Regions from separate parts of the Homo sapiens genome. Here all the other regions are linked to region 4. Evidence: promoter capture Hi-C in 16 types of primary human blood cells and fetal thymus (Javierre and others, 2016). All regions are on one chromosome and are shown on one strand. The core of a region is centred on a gene start or on the middle of the fragment in contact, and the rest is flanking DNA. Distances in the headings are between cores, read along the strand shown.

The links. Contacts are between HindIII fragments. The CHiCAGO score rates a contact against its expected background, and 5 or more counts as called.
Region 1: a fragment that was not itself captured here is called in contact with the fragment with the promoter of OTUD4 in region 4 in 2 of 17 cell types (non-activated CD4 T cells and total CD4 T cells); the score reaches 7.9 in non-activated CD4 T cells.
Region 2: a contact is called between a fragment that was not itself captured here and the fragment with the promoter of OTUD4 in region 4, in 2 of 17 cell types (non-activated CD4 T cells and total CD4 T cells). The highest score is 7.8, in non-activated CD4 T cells.
Region 3: a fragment that was not itself captured here is called in contact with the fragment with the promoter of OTUD4 in region 4 in 1 of 17 cell types (activated CD4 T cells); the score reaches 6.3 in activated CD4 T cells.

Annotation. Positions count from the first base shown.
Region 1 is chr4:140,369,578-140,372,368 of GRCh38, reverse strand. All of the region lies in intron 1 of SCOC-AS1 (SCOC antisense RNA 1), which reads left to right. It also overlaps a transcript of SCOC not described here. Among named protein-coding and RNA genes, the nearest start is that of SCOC-AS1, 2.4 kb to the left of the region's middle. The HindIII fragment of the contact is 4,110 bases long and covers 1-2,791 here.
Region 2 is chr4:140,526,178-140,529,172 of GRCh38, reverse strand. ELMOD2 (ELMO domain containing 2) reads right to left here. Exons shown (of 9, transcript NM_153702.4): 3 at 1,679-1,707. Among named protein-coding and RNA genes, the nearest start is that of ELMOD2, 3.5 kb to the right of the region's middle. The HindIII fragment of the contact is 4,334 bases long and covers 1-2,995 here.
Region 3 is chr4:141,226,342-141,229,306 of GRCh38, reverse strand. It overlaps ZNF330 (zinc finger protein 330), which reads right to left. Exons shown (of 10, transcript NM_014487.6): 5 at 2,461-2,540. Among named protein-coding and RNA genes, the nearest start is that of ZNF330, 6.9 kb to the right of the region's middle. The HindIII fragment of the contact is 2,365 bases long and covers 93-2,457 here.
Region 4 is chr4:145,179,255-145,181,963 of GRCh38, reverse strand. OTUD4 (OTU deubiquitinase 4) reads left to right here and starts at 1,375. Exons shown (of 21, transcript NM_001366057.1): 1 at 1,375-2,149. The coding sequence starts at 1,991. RefSeq lists silencers at 969-1,368, 1,459-1,688, 1,809-2,268 and enhancers at 614-1,443, 1,444-2,273. The HindIII fragment of the contact is 3,984 bases long and covers 1-2,709 here.

The DNA.
Region 1 (2,791 bases), core at 56-2,555, 4.8 Mb after region 4:
GTGAAATTGCAGGACACCAAAGATCAAGAGAAACTATTAAAAGCAACCTTTTGTTTTTGCTAGAACAGTATTTTTAAATATTTTTAATTGTAGTGAAATATACATAGAATAAAATTTACCATCTTAACCATTTTTAACTTCAGTAGTATAAGATACATTCCACATTGTTCTCCAACCAATCTCCAGAACCAATCTCTCTTTTCATCTTGCCAAACTAAAACTGTATACCTATTAAAGAGCAACTCTCCATTTCCTATTCCCCTCATCCTCTGGCAGTAATCATCTTACTTTGTGTTTATCAGTTTGACTACTCTAGGTACCTCACCTAAGTGGAATAATACAGAATTTGCCCTTTTATGACTGGCTTATTTCATTTAGCATAATGCCTCAGAGTTCATCCATGTTATAGCATATTGCAGAACTTCCTTTTTAAGGCTGAATAGTTCTATATATCATTTATTATGTGTATTATGCCACATTTTGTTTATTCATCTATCAGTGGACGCTTAGGTTGCTTCCTCCTTTTGGCTATTGTGAATAATACTGCTATGGACATGGGTGTGCAAATGTCTCTTTGAGACCCTCTTTTCAGTTCTTTTGGATATACACCCAGAAGTGTGTGTTAATTTGTGCTGAATCATATGGTAATTCTATTTTAAAGCAACTTTTAAAAAAGTGGTATTGACACAAGAATAGACAAAAAGAAAATTAGGAAAAAAAGGGTACCTGGAAGTTGGTATACAATAAAGATGTCTGGTGAGGAATAACTGTTTCTAAGGTTGTGGGGAAAAAACTATTATTCATTACTGTTGGGAGTGTAAATTAGTATAGTAACTGTTCGTGGGATATAGAAAACACAAGTTATGGTGGTTCTAGTTAAATTGGCTATTTATATAAAAATAAGAAATTCAATCCTGATACCACGACAGAAATAAAACTAAATTCCAAATGAAATAATGATCCAAAATGTGACAAACAAAACTCTAAACTTTTAGAAGAAAAGCGTATGTCTGTATATCGCCGTAGGGAAGAAACAGCACGATTCATTAAGGAAAGATGTAAAATATTGATTATTTTAAAATTTGGAAGTTTTACAAACAGAAGAGAAGCCATCTCTAATCAAGTTAAAAAACAAGCCACAGGTTGGCAGAATATAGTAAAACTCTCAAAATATAAAGAATTCAGGCCAGGCGCGGTGGCTCACGGCTGTAATCCCAGCACTTTGGGAGGTCGAGGCGGGTGGATCACGAGGTCAGGAGATTGAGACCATCCTGGCTAACACGGTGAAACCCCGTCTCTACTAAAAATACAAAAAATTAGCTGGGCGTGGTGGCGGGCGCCTGTAGTCCCAGCTACTCGGGAGGCTGAGGCAGGAGAGTGGCATGAACCCAGGAGGCAGAGCTTGCAGTGACATGGTGCCACTGCACTCCAGCCTGGGCGACAGGGTGAGACTCCGTCTCAAAAAAAAAAAAAAGAATTCAGACAAATCAGTAAGAAAAAGACAACTCAAGATAAATATATGCAAATAACGTAAGTAGGCCACTTACAGAAGAGGAAAACTGAACGGCCAGAAAGGTTTTTAAAAAATGTTTACCTTCACTAATAATTAGGTAAAATAACATTAAAACAATTAGATAAAGGGGCATATTCATCAAGAAGACACAAAATCCTAACCACAGTGCTACAAAATAGAAATGAATCAAAAATTAATTGAATTCAAACAGTTCATTACTCCCTGCTCTGCAATTTGTAAAACAACTATACAGATAATTTAAGTATACAGAACTCAGGTCCCAAACTTTTCAGTATATTAGAATCACCTGGGAATCTTTTAATTATTCTAGTGAACAGACCACACCTCAGAATAAATTACAGTCTTAAGGAGTGAGATACAGGCATTAGTATTTTTGAAAGTTACGAAGGTGATTTTGAAAAAAGGCTGGCAAATTTCTGAACTATTGATATAGAAGACCTGAACAATCCTATCAGCCAACTTGACCTAATGGACATTTGTAGAACATTGCACCCAATAACTGAAGAACATGCTTTCTTTTCCAATGCACTTGGAAAATTCATCAAAATAGACTCCACTGTGTATCATCAAACAAATCTCAGCAAATTTAAAATAATTGAAACAGTAAAAATTATTGTCTCTACCCACAAATTAAACTAGAAATCAGTAACAGAAAGATATTTGTAAATCTCCAAATAGTTGGAAATCAAACTATGTACTTCTAAACAAACCATGGGTCACAGGGGAAGTCACACACAAAAAAATTAGAAAGTAATTTTAAACTAAAATGTAAACATAAAAAGGCAGCTCTTGCATGACTCAGCTTTCAGCTTATTTTCAGCTTTCAGACTTGGGAGGCTGAAGCAGGAGAACTGCTTGAACCCAGGAGGTGGAGGTTGTAGTGAGCTGAGATGGCGCCATTGCACTCCAACCTGGACAACAAGAGCGAAACTCCATCTAAAAAAAAAAAAAAAAAAAAAAAAAAAAAAAAAAAAAAATCCCCCTTCTGAATAAGGAAAGGCTATAAGTACAAATAGAAACCACTGAGATTGCATAGAAATATTTGATTATAAGGTGAACATTCATGCGACCTGGACTATGTGAATATTGATAATATAGTTCATCTAAATAAAGGCACAAAATTACATTTTTTTTCCTAGAGAATGGGGGAAGTCCTAATTGAAAACTGTACAAGGCAATATATTATGTGGGGGAAGAAATGATAAATAATGAAATAGAGAACTTCCAATATCTTTTTGATGTTCCAGTCTGGCACAC
Region 2 (2,995 bases), core at 366-2,865, 4.7 Mb after region 4:
ATCACCTGGGAACATGTTAGAAATGCAATCAGAACCAGACCAGAAATTCCGGGGATGGGGCCCAATAATCTGTGTTTTAATAGGCCTCCAGAAGATTTTGATTCTTCCTTAAGTTTAAGGACTACTCTTGTAATGGACCTGAAATATAACACCTCCCCAAGTGCATCTGCTAAAATTTGTAATATTGTTACTTTGGGAAACTGCATCCTATGTTTCAAATAAAGGAACTATACAAATAAATAAGGTATAAATAAATTTTGAGAACCAGCAACCTGTTAGCTTTCAGGACCTCCACATCCTCATTTTAAAAAATATATTAATCACTCTCTAACAATTCTGAACAAAGGAGTGTAACTCTGGACTCTTCCCCCAAATATTCACTTATATATATGAGTTATTCTTAAATAGACCATTCTTAAAGAGTACAACTAAATCATTAAAGTACCTATTTTAAAGGTTACTCTTCAGAACATAACAGATATGCTTGCAACTCTCAAGAAGGTCTATTTTATTTCTGGCACGATTCATAATACTAGACAGTAGCAAATCAACATTTTTGACCTTGAGCCACATTTTACATCATGATCAATAACAAACATTCATGTGGATGTCCAAAATACACACAGATGTACACAGAAATATTTAAAATAATTATAATAGTATAAAAAATTCCTAAAATATATTTAACCATATTATGACCAATGGTTTCTAAATATTTTCTGTTCTATTCCTATTATTGTTTAATACTGGTTGTGTTCTATTATGGGATTTCAAACAATGGTCTAGATGACCCGTATTCTATCCTTGCCACACCAAATAATCTACATGTAGACAAAATTGTGAACTACAATAGGGAAGTAACAGCATGTGGTAGACTGAATTATTGGTCCCAATTCTTCATTACCTTGTAATTGAATTATACAACCTACTCCCTACCATAGCCTTACGGTGGGCATATCATATTTCTCCACCCCTTGACTTGGGCTTGGCCATGTAACTTGTTTTAACTAACAGGTTGCTAACAGACATGACACAAAGAGACTTAAAATATATTTGTGTAGTTGGGCCTTTAGTTATCCATGGTGAAAACATTCACCAGATACCTGTTAACCCCCTACCTGAGTCCCAGATGAGACAAATGGAATAGACAGGAACTTGGCCCCAGCTTGAAGTAAGGCTTCTCCAGCTGACCCATAGACATATGAGCAAGAAACAACGTATCGTTTTATGCCCCTGAGATTTTATTATAGTTTGTTACACAGCAAAAGCTGACTAATACATAGCATGAATTATGACTTATTTTAGCTCAAAAGGTACACAACCCAGGGTTTTCTCTATCCTAAGTTGCTTTTCTCTCATATAATCTATCCTGAGGACACAGTCTAAAAGACGACTTTCCTCCTAAGGCCCTGCTTTCCTAAAAGCTATCAACTCTTAAAGCAAAATAAACAAATAAAACCTCAGGACAGGACAAATTATTCAAGTATTTTCTTTGAAATACACACGAAAAACACATATATAGAGAAATGTTTGAAAACAGAATATTACCTCTAAACGGGGAAAATTTCACTCAATGCTCACTATAGAAAACACTCTTCTAGCAGGGCACTTTTTTTTTTTTAAGAAAAAATATGTCCACGTTAAGTTTTCTAGAGTTACCACCTTTATGTTATCCTACCTTATTCTTGGAGTATGTCAAGGAATTTTCTGAAATGACAAAAAAAAAAAAAAGATGTTATCACTTAAATGCTGTTTGTCAATTACCCTATAATAAACAACTAGTAAAAATATCAAACCAGTAACAAACTAATAGTTCCAGGAGATATAATTTCTATATAACAGGAAGCATTTTAAAATTTAATCTTACAGTATAAACATATGATTTCAAAAAACTCAACCAAACACAAAATACCTATTCAAAGAGGTGACACCAACCTCATTACCTGGGGTCATATGTTTCTGTTTAGACCCCAAAGTGTCTACTAACCACTGCAAATTCACCCATAATTGTGTCACAGTAGCTCAGGTCCCAGAAACTCATCTTAAGACTACAATGAGAGTGCTCTCTACTGCATTTTCATTTGTTAGCCTGAGCCTTTAGATTTGAGGTGATAGCAACCAAATCGTACAACAAATAGGCAAGGACTTCAGATTATCTGGTCAACCCTTCTGTCACCAGACAAATAGCTTCTCCATTCCTGGTTTCTATATCAAGAATCACAGGAACATTTTTATTGGTCTATTTAAAAAATTTTCTGGCACATTTACGAATAATCTTTTCTCAGCAATTTGAAAAATTTAGGAAAAATGCTTTTGCCACAAACAAATGCCTTTATATATATTCTTCCCCCACACTATAAAACACCAACCCATACTGCCTGAAGAGATTTCTTATCAAGAGGTACTTTGTTCTTTTGAGTAGTCAAAAGGGCAAATTAAAAGAGCAGCAATAATTTAAGTCAACCATGAAGTTGTAAGAAAACTAGGAAAGTAATTAAACTTAATCAACCAGCTGCTATGAGGCAGCGTCTGTCTGTCATTCTTCCGATGTTGTCTTGGATACAGGTTCCATTTGCCAATACTCCACTCTCTTAACCTGACAGGGGTTGATTTCTCAGTCGAAGCACACTTGATCAACACAAAAAAAAAATCTGGCTAATTCACAATTTTCCGTTTAACACAGAGAGCATGAGCTAGAGCACTTCTCTGCTCTTCCTTACCCTGGCTGAAAAGAAGCGACTTCAAAACACAGTTCTTACTCATCTGTGTTCAAATTTTAGAGTAAAATTTTCAATGAAGCACTGAAAACTGATGTATTTTAGAAGGTAACAGAGCAACACTGTTCAACAGAAATATAACACAAGCCAAAATGTGACCCATTTGTGTACTTTAAAATTCTGTATAGCCACATTAAAGTAAAAAGAAACAGATAACATTTTAATATATTTTTAACCCAACATATCCAAAATATTACCATTTCAACATACAAAGAATA
Region 3 (2,965 bases), core at 26-2,525, 4.0 Mb after region 4:
TAATATTATTTAATTAAGCCAAAGAGATGGAAGTATTTTCCTCAAAATGAATTTAATTCAAATAAAGTTTGAAGGAACCAACAGCTTAAGCTTTCTTGTCTATAATAATTCCTGTAACTACACTGAATTTTTAAATACTACCATTTCTGATTTTTAAAATACCTTCTTATCTATATATTTGCATAGCTTTTCTAGAATTACTGAGAAATACGAAACTTCTGCCAGCTTCTTTTTTTCTCTTATGACAACTTATGTTTTAATAATAATTACATTTCTTTGTGGAAAAAATTTGAAGTAAAATATATGGAACTAAAATACAGGGTAAGATTCTCCAATTCTATATCAAGAAAAGACAATAACAATATGTTTCAATAAAACATTGACACCTACCAAATATTAAAAGCTAGAAAGAATCTTAAGAGAGTAGGATCAGACAATCTTTCCTTTATAAAGGAAAAGCATGGGGCCCAAGACTAAATCCAAGTCCCGAGTTGGATTACAGGTGAGGTGAGATTTAAAGCCAGGATTTCAGAATCTCAATTCAGTATTCTATTATTCAAGGCTCTGAAACAAATGTAGTAAACAACAAATAGGAAGAATGTTTTTTGACTTGCAAAAATGGGTTATCAGTATAGCTAGCAAATCATCAACTATATCTCTTGGATCAGCCAGGGTTCTTGCAAAAAAGAGATGGTACTCTCAAACTAGGTAATCTAGAAGAGTTTTAAAGAGATAATTTGCAGAGGACAGGGAAGTTCTTAGGACAAACAGGAGAGGACTACCTGGCCATATAGGGAGAACTGTGGTCCTTAGAGAAAGGATAAAACCAAACCAGGATAACCTGGTACGGAGTGAGATGAAGGAATAAACACCCAGATCTTATTCTCCTGCTATTCTCAGGGGGAATCTGGGGAGGCAAATAGAAGATATCCAGAAAATCACTTTTCTAGAATTTACAACTAAAGATATATGACTCTACTTAAATGTTTTCTTTATGTAAGAAGAAATTATTCACATTCAAAAAACAGTGATTTTAAAAAATGAATTTGGCTGAACTTAAGCTACCAAGGAAGACTGAAAGTGTTTTTGAATAAAGATAACTTGACAATCCTATACTTAAAATAAAGAGCAATTCACAAGATGATAATTCTCGCTCCTTGCTTCTATAATATATGCACATATGAAATATATCATAGGTCTCCCTCATAATAGAAGTTTACATGTTCTTGGAAATTTACCATAAATAAAATATTCCATTTGACATAAATATAGTATCATTTTCCTCATAGATTAAAATTTGAACAAAATTTTATTTGAACATAAAATCATACTGCAATACAGTAAAACTGGTTAACTCATATTTAGAAGGAAAACATGTTTCAGGAAAAAGAGCAAAATACATCACATAATCCAGTTGGTTTTATTATTCAAAAAGCTGAATTTACTTTAAAAAATCCTATATGTAATGAAGAGGTATGTTAAATATATACACTTTTTTGAAATGTAAAGTTTTAAAGAACACTATTATCCTAGGTTCGTTTGGAACTAAGTTGCTTATTTAACCAAAGGCTTAAACGTTGGTTAAGCAGGGCTTTCGGTACACTAAATACTGTTTTGTGAAGTCTGGTTAAGAGATATTAGAAAGGTACCACTGAGTATATACCCAAAGGATTATAAATCATGCTGCTATAAAGACAAATGCACACGTATGTTTATTGTGGCACTATTCACAATAGCAAAGACTTGGAACCAACCCAAATGTCCAACAATGATAGACTGGATTAAGAAAATGTGGCACATATACACCATGGAATACTATACAGCCATAAAAAATGATGAGTTCATGTCCTTTGTAGAGACACGGATGAAGCTGGAATCCATCATTCTTAGCAAACTATCGCAAGGACAAAAAACCAAACACCGCATGTTCTCACTCATAGGTGGGAACTGAACAATGAGAACACATGGACACAGGAAGGGGAACATCACACACCACAAACCGGGGACTGTTGTGGGGTGGGGGGATGGGGGAGGGATAGCATTAGGAGATATACCTAATGCTAAATGACGAGTTAATGGGTGCACCACACCAACATGGCACATGTATACATATGTAACAAACCTGCATGTTGTGCACATGTACCCTAAAACTTAAAGTATAATAATAATAATAAAATTTAAAAAAAAAAAGGTACCACTGAGAAATGAAATTCTGTTTAGATCAGCATGAAAAGTTTCCATGCCTTGTATGTTCCCTAATAAGAAAGAAAGAAGCAGCTAGAAACAAGTGGGTACTAAGGGAAAATCATACAAAAAGCATGCCACTCATAATCCAGATAACTACAGATTGATTGAAACAAGGGACAAAGCAATGATATTTAGAAAAAAATAACCACTGATCAGAATGACATTTTCTTATCCTTGAAAACGTACTAGTCTAAGAGATAATAAGAAGCTTACCACCATTGCAAGGCCAGTACTGTATACACCAGCATGCTTTATGACACAGTCTGAAGACTTCATCATGCACTTTGTTTTCCCTAATGAAGAAAAACATTTGCACTGTTAGTCTTGCAAAGGAATACATACCAGTACTCACGAATTCCTCCTTTTATCCAGCCCAAGTTCCTGAGGAAATAATTTAAAAACTAATGAAATTGAATCAGTATTTACTGCTTACATAACTAGAAAGAGAAAATGGATATAACTGAGACTTCATTACTCGAATCAGACTTTTCAGATTATACATTTACTAATAAATCTGTAAAATGAACTATACAATATATATGCTAATTTGTACTAAATCAGAAATTGCAGGTTATGCTTTGTAATCTAATGATCATTTTAACAGTTTAAAAACTTATCAATCTTCAGATTATTCAAAACAATTTTTAAAGGAATGCTTTTTATAACAAATTTTACATTTTATAATTCACAATAAAAACTGTGGTTTGAAGTTATTTCT
Region 4 (2,709 bases), core at 126-2,625:
AGAGACGGGGTTTCTCCATGTTGGTCAGGCTGGTCTCGAACTCCTGACCTCAGGTGACCGGGCTGCCTCGGCCTCCCAAAGTGCTGGGATTACAGGCGTGAGCCACCACGCCCAGCTGAAACTATACTTTTCTAAACCTGATTTCAAAGTGTTTCTTCGCTACAACAAGTAAATTTGAGGCAGGGACATTTTTTCATTTAGGTAACGATAACGTTTGTATTCTCTAAAAGCAGCATAATTTGAGATACAATATTTAAACATTAAGAAATCAAAGACGCTCCAAGGAAAGTGAATACATGACTGATTGCTTGCACTGAAAATACTGAAAAGTGTCTAACGTAGTTTTTAAAAAATTTTTGTCGTTGGACTCTCACCACCTGGCCTGCCTTGCCCCCCATTCCAAGGTATTTGACTACATGTCTAAACCTATAGTAATGCTCCCTTTTCTTCTCCCTCTCCTCCACCATAGCCTAAAAGACTGAATTAGTTCCTATGATTAACCATGTATTTAAATAAGGACACCAGATGTTGTATCTTAGCAAAATAAAATTTTGGTGCAACAGAAGCATGCTGGATAAATTCTGGGTTCTAAAGCATAATTTAACTTTGTCAATTCCCTGCCATTCAACGTCGGAGGGTGGGAAGTTGAGCTGAAGCCTCGAGCACTGGTGGAAGCCATGGCCAGTCCAGTCAGCATGTTATCAAGCAATTTACAAGATGAATTTTTTAAGGGGGAAAAAAAAACCCTAACGTCTTCCGACAGTGACATGTCTCTGTGATGGGGTGCTCAGCTACAGTGACAGGGTGAACAAAAATGTCTTTGGCAAAGCCTTCATCTTGCCGTAGTACGTGAGCTGTACTACTAATAGCAATCAGCAGTCCACGGTTGATTTATGGACAGAGTGTGTCGTCCCGCACCGTGCCAGTTCCCGGAGCCTCAGCCAATTAGCTCTATTTTCTGCTTAAGCCGTTAAAGCCACCTCCATGGAAACACCAGGAGAGCAGGCCGGGGGGAAGGGAGCAGACAGGTGCGCCCTCTGGAAAGAAATACACAAAGGGCCGACACTGCGCCGCCGTGTCCCTGGCAACTCCACGCCAGCCCGGCGCGCGCGATTCCCGCGGCGCAGCGGCAGGGTTGGCGGGTGGCGCGCGCAGGTCGCCCCACATCGGCCGGCGGAGCCCCTCGGCCTGCTCGCGGACGCGGCGCCAGTGCAGCGCGAAGCCGGCTTGGGGCGGTGGCGGTGGCGGCGGCGCGCCCGCGCTGTAGGGACTTGTAGTCCGCGCGCCTCCCGGGCACCTCCCCCGGGTAGGCCGGCCAGCGCGTCCCCGCCCGCCGCAAGCCGACTTCCTGCGGCTGCCAAGACTACATCTCCCGCCGTCCTCTCCGCTGTCGGGCCGAAAGCGAAAACAAATTCTGGGCTGCGAGGTGCTGTTCTCTCCCGGGCGCCCCCACCCGCTCCCTGCCCCTCCGGCGCCCTCCAGCGAGGTGGGGAAACGAAAGGCCGCGTCTTTCTTTTTGGTTTCCTCGGCTCCCGGCGTGGGGAGTGCGCGGGGGCGCAGGCCCCGCTTCACCTGAGCCGGCCCAGCGTGCGCGCCAGGGGCGGGGGTTTTCTCGCTTCACACCGGTACGGAGGAGGAAACTTGTGGGGGCGGCGACCCCCGGCCTGGGTCCTGAGTCAGGCAGCGAGGCCGTCGGGAAGTGACTACTCACTCTCGGGGTTTTCCTTAATCCCGCTCCCCCCGTTTGTCGTGGGCGCGTGTTCGCTCCGAGGAGGCGGCCGCGTGCGGACAGCCATGCATTAGGCAGGGCTTCCCTATGCGCCCGGAGAGCGCGGACCGCTGCCTCGGGCCGCCGCCGCCTGCCGCCGCTCGCGGAGCCCGAGCCCCAGCCCGAGCCGCCGCCTGCCCCAGGCCGGGGCGTCGAGCAGCCGGCGGCCTGGCCATGTGGGGCTAGCCCTCGCCGCGCCTGGCCTGCAGCAGGACCAGCAACATGGAGGCTGCCGTCGGCGTCCCCGACGGCGGGGACCAGGGCGGCGCGGGGCCCCGCGAGGACGCGACGCCCATGGACGCCTATCTGCGGAAACTGGGCTTGTATCGGAAACTGGTCGCCAAGGACGGGTCGTGCCTGTTCCGGGCCGTGGCGGAGCAGGTAATTGCGGGGGGGCGGGGAGGGCTTCGAGGGGAGGCGGGGACGGCCCGGCGGGTCTGGGTGGGGAGGCAGCTGCGGGCTGTCCGGGCCGCCCACGGCCGGGGCTGCGCGTGCCCTGGCTGTCGTCACAGCGCCCCATTGTAACGCCGGAGTGGGACGCTGCTTTGCGTCTGAAAGGTGCAAATTGAAACTCGAAAGCCCGCAAATTAACGGGGTGTCTCTCTCCTGATGAAGAGGTAATGAGTTGAGGACAACTTGTGAGGCCTGCTCGGAGCTTGTACAGTTGATTTATTGCTGGGGACCTGGCGACATGATATTTTTTACTTTTGTTCCGCATTCACCTTCCTTCCCTTCGTTTGAGAAGCACCACGCTCACCCCACTCCAGTAAACCAAGTGTTTACTAGAAGTGGTGGATCAAACTTTACTTGTGGAACATATTTTGGTTTGCTGCTGGACTTTGGAATGTAGGGTAGGCAAGCTCGCCCATGTCACTTGAATCAAATGGGCAAACTGCCGTTTGAGAAAACCAGCCTTTTACAAATATAGAATATTTTGAAGG